3 separate regions of the Homo sapiens genome follow, and regions 1 and 2 are each linked to region 3. The links are contacts of gene promoters, found by promoter capture Hi-C in blood cells and fetal thymus (Javierre and others, 2016). All regions are on one chromosome and are shown on one strand. The core of a region is centred on a gene start or on the middle of the fragment in contact, and the rest is flanking DNA. Distances in the headings are between cores, read along the strand shown. Region 1 overlaps CACNA1D (calcium voltage-gated channel subunit alpha1 D). Region 2 overlaps CACNA1D (calcium voltage-gated channel subunit alpha1 D). Region 3 holds the start of CHDH (choline dehydrogenase).

Evidence for each region. The method cuts DNA at HindIII sites, captures the fragments that hold promoters and counts their contacts. A CHiCAGO score of 5 or more calls a contact.
Region 1: a fragment that was not itself captured here is called in contact with the fragment with the promoter of CHDH in region 3 in 1 of 17 cell types (M2 macrophages); the score reaches 5.1 in M2 macrophages.
Region 2: a contact is called between a fragment that was not itself captured here and the fragment with the promoter of CHDH in region 3, in 1 of 17 cell types (M2 macrophages). The highest score is 10.3, in M2 macrophages.

What each region holds. Positions count from the first base shown.
Region 1 is chr3:53,681,142-53,683,841 of GRCh38, forward strand. The region is part of intron 8 of CACNA1D (calcium voltage-gated channel subunit alpha1 D); the gene reads left to right. Among named protein-coding and RNA genes, the nearest start is that of CHDH, 160 kb to the right of the region's middle. The HindIII fragment of the contact is 1,729 bases long and covers 540-2,268 here.
Region 2 is chr3:53,698,138-53,700,837 of GRCh38, forward strand. The region is part of intron 8 of CACNA1D (calcium voltage-gated channel subunit alpha1 D); the gene reads left to right. Among named protein-coding and RNA genes, the nearest start is that of CHDH, 150 kb to the right of the region's middle. The HindIII fragment of the contact is 1,044 bases long and covers 834-1,877 here.
Region 3 is chr3:53,844,969-53,847,668 of GRCh38, forward strand. CHDH (choline dehydrogenase) reads right to left here and starts at 1,451. Exons shown (of 9, transcript NM_018397.5): 1 at 1,115-1,451. IL17RB (interleukin 17 receptor B) reads left to right here and starts at 1,600. Exons shown (of 11, transcript NM_018725.4): 1 at 1,600-1,680. The coding sequence starts at 1,621. RefSeq lists enhancers at 1-566, 567-1,407, 1,354-1,648 and a silencer at 999-1,648. The HindIII fragment of the contact is 5,797 bases long and covers 1-2,700 here.

The DNA of each region.
Region 1 (2,700 bases), core at 154-2,653, 160 kb before region 3:
TTACTGATACCATTTATTAAAGAGATTTTCTCTGGAAAAAACAAAACAGCTTTGATATTCAGAGCTGTATTTTTGAGACTCAAATGAACATAAAGATCCACGGTCTTATGAGAACTTAGATCGGCTGCTAGAAGAGCATTGGAGAACCATGGAGTTTTGTCTTTGGAGGGCTTTCCGGATGACATTGTTCCACAGCTCTCTGGAAATAGGGCAACTGTGCTTGGCCTGCAGGCAGTTGAATTTGATATAACAGACGAATAAGAAGCAGAAAATCCTGCTGGATCCTTTTTTCTCCCTCTCTCTTAACTTCCTAAGAATGACTTATTCATTTAATGAATTTTTTTTCAGTTCCTACACAGTGGTAGATGTATGCCAAGTGCCCTGCTAGGCACTGGGGTTACAGTGGTGGAATGTAGGCACTGGGTAGGCACCAGGATTACAGTGGTGGGATGTAGGCACCAGGGTTACGGTGGTGGGATGTAGGCACCGTGTAGGCACTGCAGTGACAGTGTGGAATGAAATGGTTTCTTTCTTCGTGAAGCTTATATCTAATGATGGAGGCCAAAATGACAATTACAAACTCGTATAAATGCTTTGAAAGAAAGGTTCATGTGCTGTGAGAGGGTTTAACAGGCACAACTGCTGTCAGTTTATTGGGTAGGAGCATCCTGGAAGTGAAGAATGAGTAGTCCACATATCCAGGCAAGGTGGGACAAGAAGCTAGGGCAAGGGTATTCTAGTCAAGGGAAAACCCACAGAAAGGAGGTACAGTAGGAAGGAGCAGAGGATGCTGGAGGAACTGAATGAAGCTAGGGTGACAGGAACTGGGAGAGCTGGAGATGAAGTCAGATGAAAGGAAAGAGACTGGCCGGCAGAATCCAGGTCACGTAGGACCTTTAGACTATGTCACAGGTTTTGGTCATTAGCTGAAGGGTAAGAGAATGCATGGATGAATTTTAAGCAGGGAGTGATATTCAAATTTACATTTTCTAAAAATTATGCTGTATTCTCATATCCTCAACTTACCTTAAAATGCTTCAAAAAGATAAGATGATTAATAGATGGATAGGGGGATGCAGAGATAGGTGATAAAGAAAATGTAGCAGCTGGGTGCTGTGGCTTGCACCTGTAATCCGAGCAATTCAGAAGGGTGAGGTGGAAGGGTTGCTTGAGGCCGGGAGTTTGAAACCAGCCTGGGCGACATAGCGAGGCTTTGTCTCTGGTAAAAAAAAAAAAAAAAAAAAAAAAAAAAAAACAGAAGTCTTTTTAGCTGGGCAATGTGGTGTGTGCCTATAGTCCCAGCTACTCAGGAGGCTGAGACAGGAGGATCGCTTGAGCCTAGGAGTTTGAGGTTGCAGTGAGCTATGATCATGCTTCTGCACTCCAGCCTGGGGAGCAGAGTGAGACCCTGTCTTAAAAAAAAAAAAGAAGAAGAAGAAAAGGTAGCAGGTGTTAATTATGGAATCTAGGTGAGGTAGGCATATGGGTGTTCATTGTATAATTGTTTCTACTTTTATGGATGTTTGAAATTCTTCCTAATAAAATGTTGGGAAAATCTGCATATGAAAATCACTGTGGCTGCAGTAATATGAATAGATTGGATGGATACACAAATGGATGTAGAGAGACCAACTTAAGGCTCATATAATCTGCTTCCAGCCACAACATACTAGTGCTACCAGACTGGACCTTTCACCATAAACAACTACAAAAGACTGGGCAAAAAATAGGAAGCAACTATTTTCAGAAAATGGAAATAGGATATACAGGATTGCAATCCCTACGAGAAGGGAAACACATGAGGTAAACTCCGCAGTTGTCCTGGCTTTCTGCCTGGAGACAGTTTTAGAATTATGGCAGAGAGGGAGAGCCCAGCAGAGAACGATGGTCTATTTGCTGAGGGGTCAAAGAACAGTGTTCAGGGCTGCTAAGATAGCTGGGATTTTCAGGGCAGAGTATGGGTGAGAAGTATGCAGAGAAGGGGCTCCAGTACTCAGAGTGGAGGTTCTTTGAAATCTGACCATATACTAAGCTGCTTCTGTGCCAGGTGATACTTATTGAAGCCAGGCAGAGAACAGCTAGTAGAATGCTGTAAGTGGTTGGAAATCTCTCCGTGCTGGGAGGTATATGGTTCTGCTCAGCTGTAGTGGAAGGACCTAATTGAATACATTGGGTACTGAGACTTCAGAAACGCCAGGCTTTAGGGTTGGAGCTACTTTAGCCCTTGAGTAAGCCTACTGTAGACCTGACTTAAAAAGCATAGAAACAAGCTTCAAAAGGATCAGGGAAATGGCCAATAAATTAAACACCTGTCAAAAAGACAAAAATCAACACTCGTTAAAGGAAGAGACCAAAACTCAGATGTTCCCAGAATGTTTTTCCTCATGACCCAAAACTATAAGACATGAAAAGAAGCAGGAAAATATTCACGATCAAGGAGGGAAAAGTCGATAGAAACAAAAGATGACAGATGTTGCAATTAATAATCAAAGACTTTGAAGTCACTACTATGAGCCTGTTTAAGGAACTGAAGGAAAAGATGGACATAATAAAAGAATAGGTAAATCTCAGTAGGTAAATAGAAACAGTACAATATCTGAAAAAAGTAGACTGGACATTGCAGAAAAAGTTGATGAGGGCTTAGTGATCTCTAAAACAACAATAAGCAATCTGGTGTATATGAAATTGGAGTCACAGGAG
Region 2 (2,700 bases), core at 106-2,605, 150 kb before region 3:
ACATTGGAAATCAGACTTTAAAATAAACATCTTTTAGAAATCATCAGTTCACACCTATACCTTCAATTCCAGCCTGTCCCCAGAGGGTTCTTCTCTGTTCCGTGTTTCTGTGTCCCTCCTTCCACAGCGAGAACTCTGGCTCCCAGCAGCATTAGCACATGTACTCACTGGCTAAATCCTGTAATATGTCTAAGATAGTTTCAGAATGGTCTCATCCACATCACTGCAAAAAACAAAGCTACTGAAAAGAGTTCAGCATTTGTTTGTAGTTCATCCCTCACTCCAATCCTACCCAAGACTGAGAGTATGTCGTCAAATATTCATGAGCTATTTGAATTAGTTTTGTCTTTCTCCTTCAGTCTGGTTATGGTATTCATTTGAATTACAGATTTGTTTGTTTCAAATCACTTTCAGTTTAGGGGTATTTTCCCTTCATCTCATCCTTACTGACTTAATTTTTAAAAATTTAAGGTGAAGAACATTAACATGGTTCCCAAAGTCAAAACTATAGAAAAAGGTATACTTAAGAGTGTCACTCCAACCTTGATTCCTTTGGCCTAATTCATTCCCATCCCTTGTTTTCTGCTCTTTCTTTTAGATACACCTGAGAGAAATATGCTCCTTTTATTTCCCAGTTTTTCGTGTGTAAAGGGTAGCACACTTTATTGCTTTTTTTTTTTTTTTCATCCAGGCACTTCTTATTTATCTTTTGATCAGACACACCATAACCAAAATTCTGGTTTGGAACAAGAAGACTCCTAGCATATAACAGTTGTTGGATTTTTAGTCACTTGCAAAAGTCTGTTGGTTTCTACCAATAGCTTTATTAAATAAGCTTTGTAAAACAATCTCTTAGTAATAGGATTCTTAGAATATGATGAATTCTTATGCAAAGTGGAGTAACTTTTTTCCCATCATTGCAAAGTTTGATAGAAGGTGCCTCGGACTTGAGGTGTGATTTTCAGGATCAGAGGGTCAGTTGTGATGGGAATGGGTTATTCTCAACTGAGCAGATAGTGTACAGGATTGGCAGTGGGTTTGCCAGCTCATTGCGATCACTCTGAGCCTTGGGACCCATGTGTCCTTCTATGTGTCTCCCAATCCTAACGGGTTTGTGGCAGCTTAGAGCCCATTCACAGCTAGTGCTAATTTTTCTCCCTTTGATAATTTGAGAAAGCTCTTCCATTTGCCTTTTGAATGTCTCTCTTATGTCTGGATTCAACAACTATTATACATTTGAACTTCACGTTGATACCACTCTTTGTGTTTTCAAAGCCTTACTGAATGTCTTGCTTAATTCCTGTGAAACAGCGGAACAGGTATTGTTGTGTCTGTTTGGAAGTGAGGAAACTGAAGCTCAGAACACAGCAGTGACAGAGCTAGGACTAGAAGCCAGGTCTTCAGACGAAGAGCCCAGAGTGGTGTAGGAGGGCCAAGGATTTATCTGGGTTTATCACAGGGACTCTACCTCCCTGCCCCCTTCCTCCATCCTGCCCTGTGGCCAACAGATTTCTACTGTATAAACCTCACCTCTGTCCACATCAATAAATAATACCTTCCTGCTAAATATTCAGCCATTCAGAACTGTCTAAAATCAGTTCAGAGGGTCTATATCAGCAGCTTTGTTATATGAGCTTTTGTGATAGTGACCATCATTGTGAGTGGGCCATAAACCAGGACTTGGCAGGGTTTTTTACTCCTAGGAATTTTAGTCAGAGTAGAGTTTTACTTATGCCTGCTTACCTGTGTCCCAGCAGTGGAAAATGTACAACAGTGATGCAGCTTGTTAGAAATGGGATTTTTATATTTGTAATGTTAAAAAGGCATAAAATATTACAAAAGAAAATTAGGAAGATAGTAAAAGAGTTACCCTGAGAAGCTTAAGGACGTTCATTTTATAATGTATGTAATTATACATTATAAAATGTATATAATTATATAATTTAAAAATAAAATATAATTATATAATTATAATACATTATAAAATGTATATAATGTATGTAATTATGCATTATAAAATGAATGTCCTTAAGCTTCTCAGGGTAACTCTTTTACTATCTTCATAATTTTTTTCCCAAGAACCCATATATGATATGGACCCAAAGTAAGAATACCTTGTTTGTATGTAACCATCTGAATTTAGTATTCTAAGTTCGGAATCAAAACATGCAAACAGATTTGTACTAGGATACTTTTCTGGTGAATAATAGAACTGAAGGTCCACTTTTCTTTGAGATGTATTTAAGAAAACAGATTATATAATTCATTTTCCTGCAGATACATGACATGCCAAGCCCTCTTACTGTTGCTCAGGGATGTGATTCTGGATTGAGTTGTGATTTTTTCAGAGTTCAGAGAATCATTTGGTGAATTTACCTAGAGCTGAGTTATGTATTTCCCATGTGTCAGGAAACCCCGGAGGCCTAGAAACCCCAAACCATTCTCAGGGTGTGGTACATGTGAATGGCGAGACACTGGAGTCCTTACTTCTTTGAGACAGCAGGTGTTCTTTGGGCTGGGAGGTCAGAGCACGTGTCTGGGCTCAGATCGGCTCCTGCTCACTCTCTAGATCCACAAAGCCTGGCCTCCTTCCTTATTCACAGGGGGTGGAGTGGAGACTGACAGCCCTAACAGGACCAAGGATAGGTTCCAGGGAGTCTGGAAAGTGGGGTGATTTAGAAGCTATGAGAGGGATCCTTT
Region 3 (2,700 bases), core at 201-2,700:
CTCACTCCAGGAGTACCCATCAGCCAGCACCCATGTGTGGTTCACCTTTGCACCCAGCAGGTATTTGCTGAACAGGAAGATGACTATTAGAGCTGAAAATGTTCTCAAGGGCCACAGGGCCCAAAGCAACTCAGAGAGGTGGAATGAGGGGCTCAGGGTGGCCCAGTCCCAGGCAGGGGTGCGGCCACAACCTCAACTGAGTTCCTTGGTCAGGAAACAGAGCAATTCTCTGAAAATGCTACCTGCAACTCCACACGTATGCATGCCAGAGCCCAAACCCCTGGCTGATCCCCAGTCCATGCAAGCCTTAATCAAGCTGGCAGGTGGGCCAGGCCTGGCACACAAGTAGGGCCTCAGCTAAAACAGCTGCTTGACTTAGTACAGCCTCTCACCAGCTGACAACACACCCCTAAGTTCCATACCCCTCTCTAGGCCTCCGTCTTCTCATCTGTAGAATGGAGCTAATTCTGCCTACAAGTTTAAATGGCCCTGAGTTGGTCACCACAACCCTGTCGTTTGCAAACCGAGGGGGCTGAAGCAGCAGTTCCAGCCTCTGTGACTCCACTGTTAGCCCAGCTGATTTTTGTGAACTTTCCCCCAAACCCACTGTGTCTCAAAGGATGGTCCCTGGGCCACCCACCCACGAATTACGGGGGCGTGGGTGGAGGCTCGTTAAATGCAGATCCCGGGCCTGACCCGGACCTGCCGTCTGGATCTCATTTTAGGCGGCGCTAGAGATCCCGGGCCAGGGAAACTTGAGAACCGCAGCTCCAAATCGCCAGTGCTGACGGCTTCCGCTTTGGGAGCCCCAGGTGTTGCTGTCCGAACTCACTTGGTGGAAACAGACATTTACCAGAAAGCCTGGGGTCGGGCAGCGGGCACTCCTACCGCTCTAACCCCGCGTAGCTGAAAGAATTCGCTCCCTCAAAGGAGTCAGTGAGCTTCGGCAGTCTGCGTTCCACCCGTTTCGCTTCGCGCGGCGGGGCGATTGTGTAAAGCGGGCCCGGGTCTCGGCGTCCAGCCCGGCCCCAAACCTCCGGCCCCCAGGCCTCTCCGGGCTAGCGGCCGGGCGGCGCTGCTGCGGGGTGGTCGGGGCGCCTCCGCGGCTACTCACCCGGGGCGACTCGGCCGAGAGCCCGACAGTCGGGACCGGAGCGGGAGGAGCGGGTGGCCGCGGCCCGGCCCCTGCCCCGCGGCACTTTAACCGGCGGCGCCGGCGCCCCGCGCGCTCTCTGCGTCCGGAATGGGGACGCAGCAGTTCCGACCCGGTCGGCCCCGGAGCCGCGAGGCTAGCTGGGCTCCAGCGGAGGCGCGCGAAGCCCGAGGGCGGGTGCAGCTGATGCACCTGGCTCACTGCATGCACGTGTGCGCGGGGGTAGGCGCGCGCCGCGGCGGCCCGTGCTCCGCCAGCGCTCGGACACGGCCCATCCCTCCGAGCCCCAGCAGGCGAGGGCGCTGCGACCTGCCCCAGCCTGGGAGGGGGCCAGCGGGCCCGCCCTCTGTTCGGGTGGCGGGAATGGGTCGGCGCTGCGAGAGGCGGAGCCGAGAAGGGGCGGCCCGGCGGCGCCGGGATAAAAGCGCAGCGTGCGGGTGGCCTGGATCCCGCGCAGTGGCCCGGCGATGTCGCTCGTGCTGCTAAGCCTGGCCGCGCTGTGCAGGAGCGCCGTACCCCGAGAGCCGGTAAGCCCCCGCCAGCACCTCTTCCCTCATCTCCCGGCCCTCGAGCCCAGATCCTGACGTCGTCTGATCCGCCAGTCCAGGCTGCCCCGAAGGCGTGCGCGGACTGCCGGCTCAAGGGGCATGCCTGCACCCTCAGGGCAGCCCCGGACATCGGCGTCAGGTTGCTTGAGTCAGGGGCGTGGGAATCAGACAGACCCGGTCTCAGATGCCACCCTGTACTGTTGGTTCTGTCATTTATGCTCACCAAGTTCCAAGTCCCGAACGGTAAAACGAAGGGCAGTACCGAACCCACCAGGGTCTCTTAAGGTATAACGACATGGCCTGCAATTAGCGGCGAAGGGCCTGGCACGTAGTTATTGTTACTTGGGGTCTGCTCACCTGTTGGGGCACAAGAACTGTTTCTCCATTAGTACCCCCTCCCTTTTTGGCCATATTGATTGCCATGTTCACTCGTGAAGGCAGTTGCCTTTCTTCCCCAGTACCCTGAATGATCGAGGGAATCTTCTGGGTCACTGAAGAGAAAATAGCTCATCCCCCAAATAACCTTTGAAATGATACCGCTGCCCTCTTAGAATAGCATATAGCATCAAGCTCCGTAGTCACCTGCTGGTGGACAAACCCCATTCACTGTTTCCTGATGTCTTCAGCTCCTATCCTTCCCCTCTGTGTCAGTTCAGAAGCCCTCTTGGCTCTTTGCACTAAAGGGAAGAATTCATCCCTTTTGCTGTAGTTGCTGCAAGGCCAACAATTTGAGCTTGGTAGCATTTAGGGTTGTTGCTTGGCCTCTCACCGGCCGTTTGATAAGAACTCAGCTCCTGGTATGATGGCTCATTTGTTAAAAAAAAAAAAAAAAAGTCAAGTCTGGCCGGGCTCGGTGGCTCACGCCTGTAATCCCAGCACTTTGGGAGGCTGAGGCGGCCGGATTGCCTGAGGTCAGGAGTTTGGGAACAGCCTGGCTAACATGGTGAAACCCCGTCTCTACTAAAAATACAAAAAGTAGCCGGGCATGGTGGCAGGCGC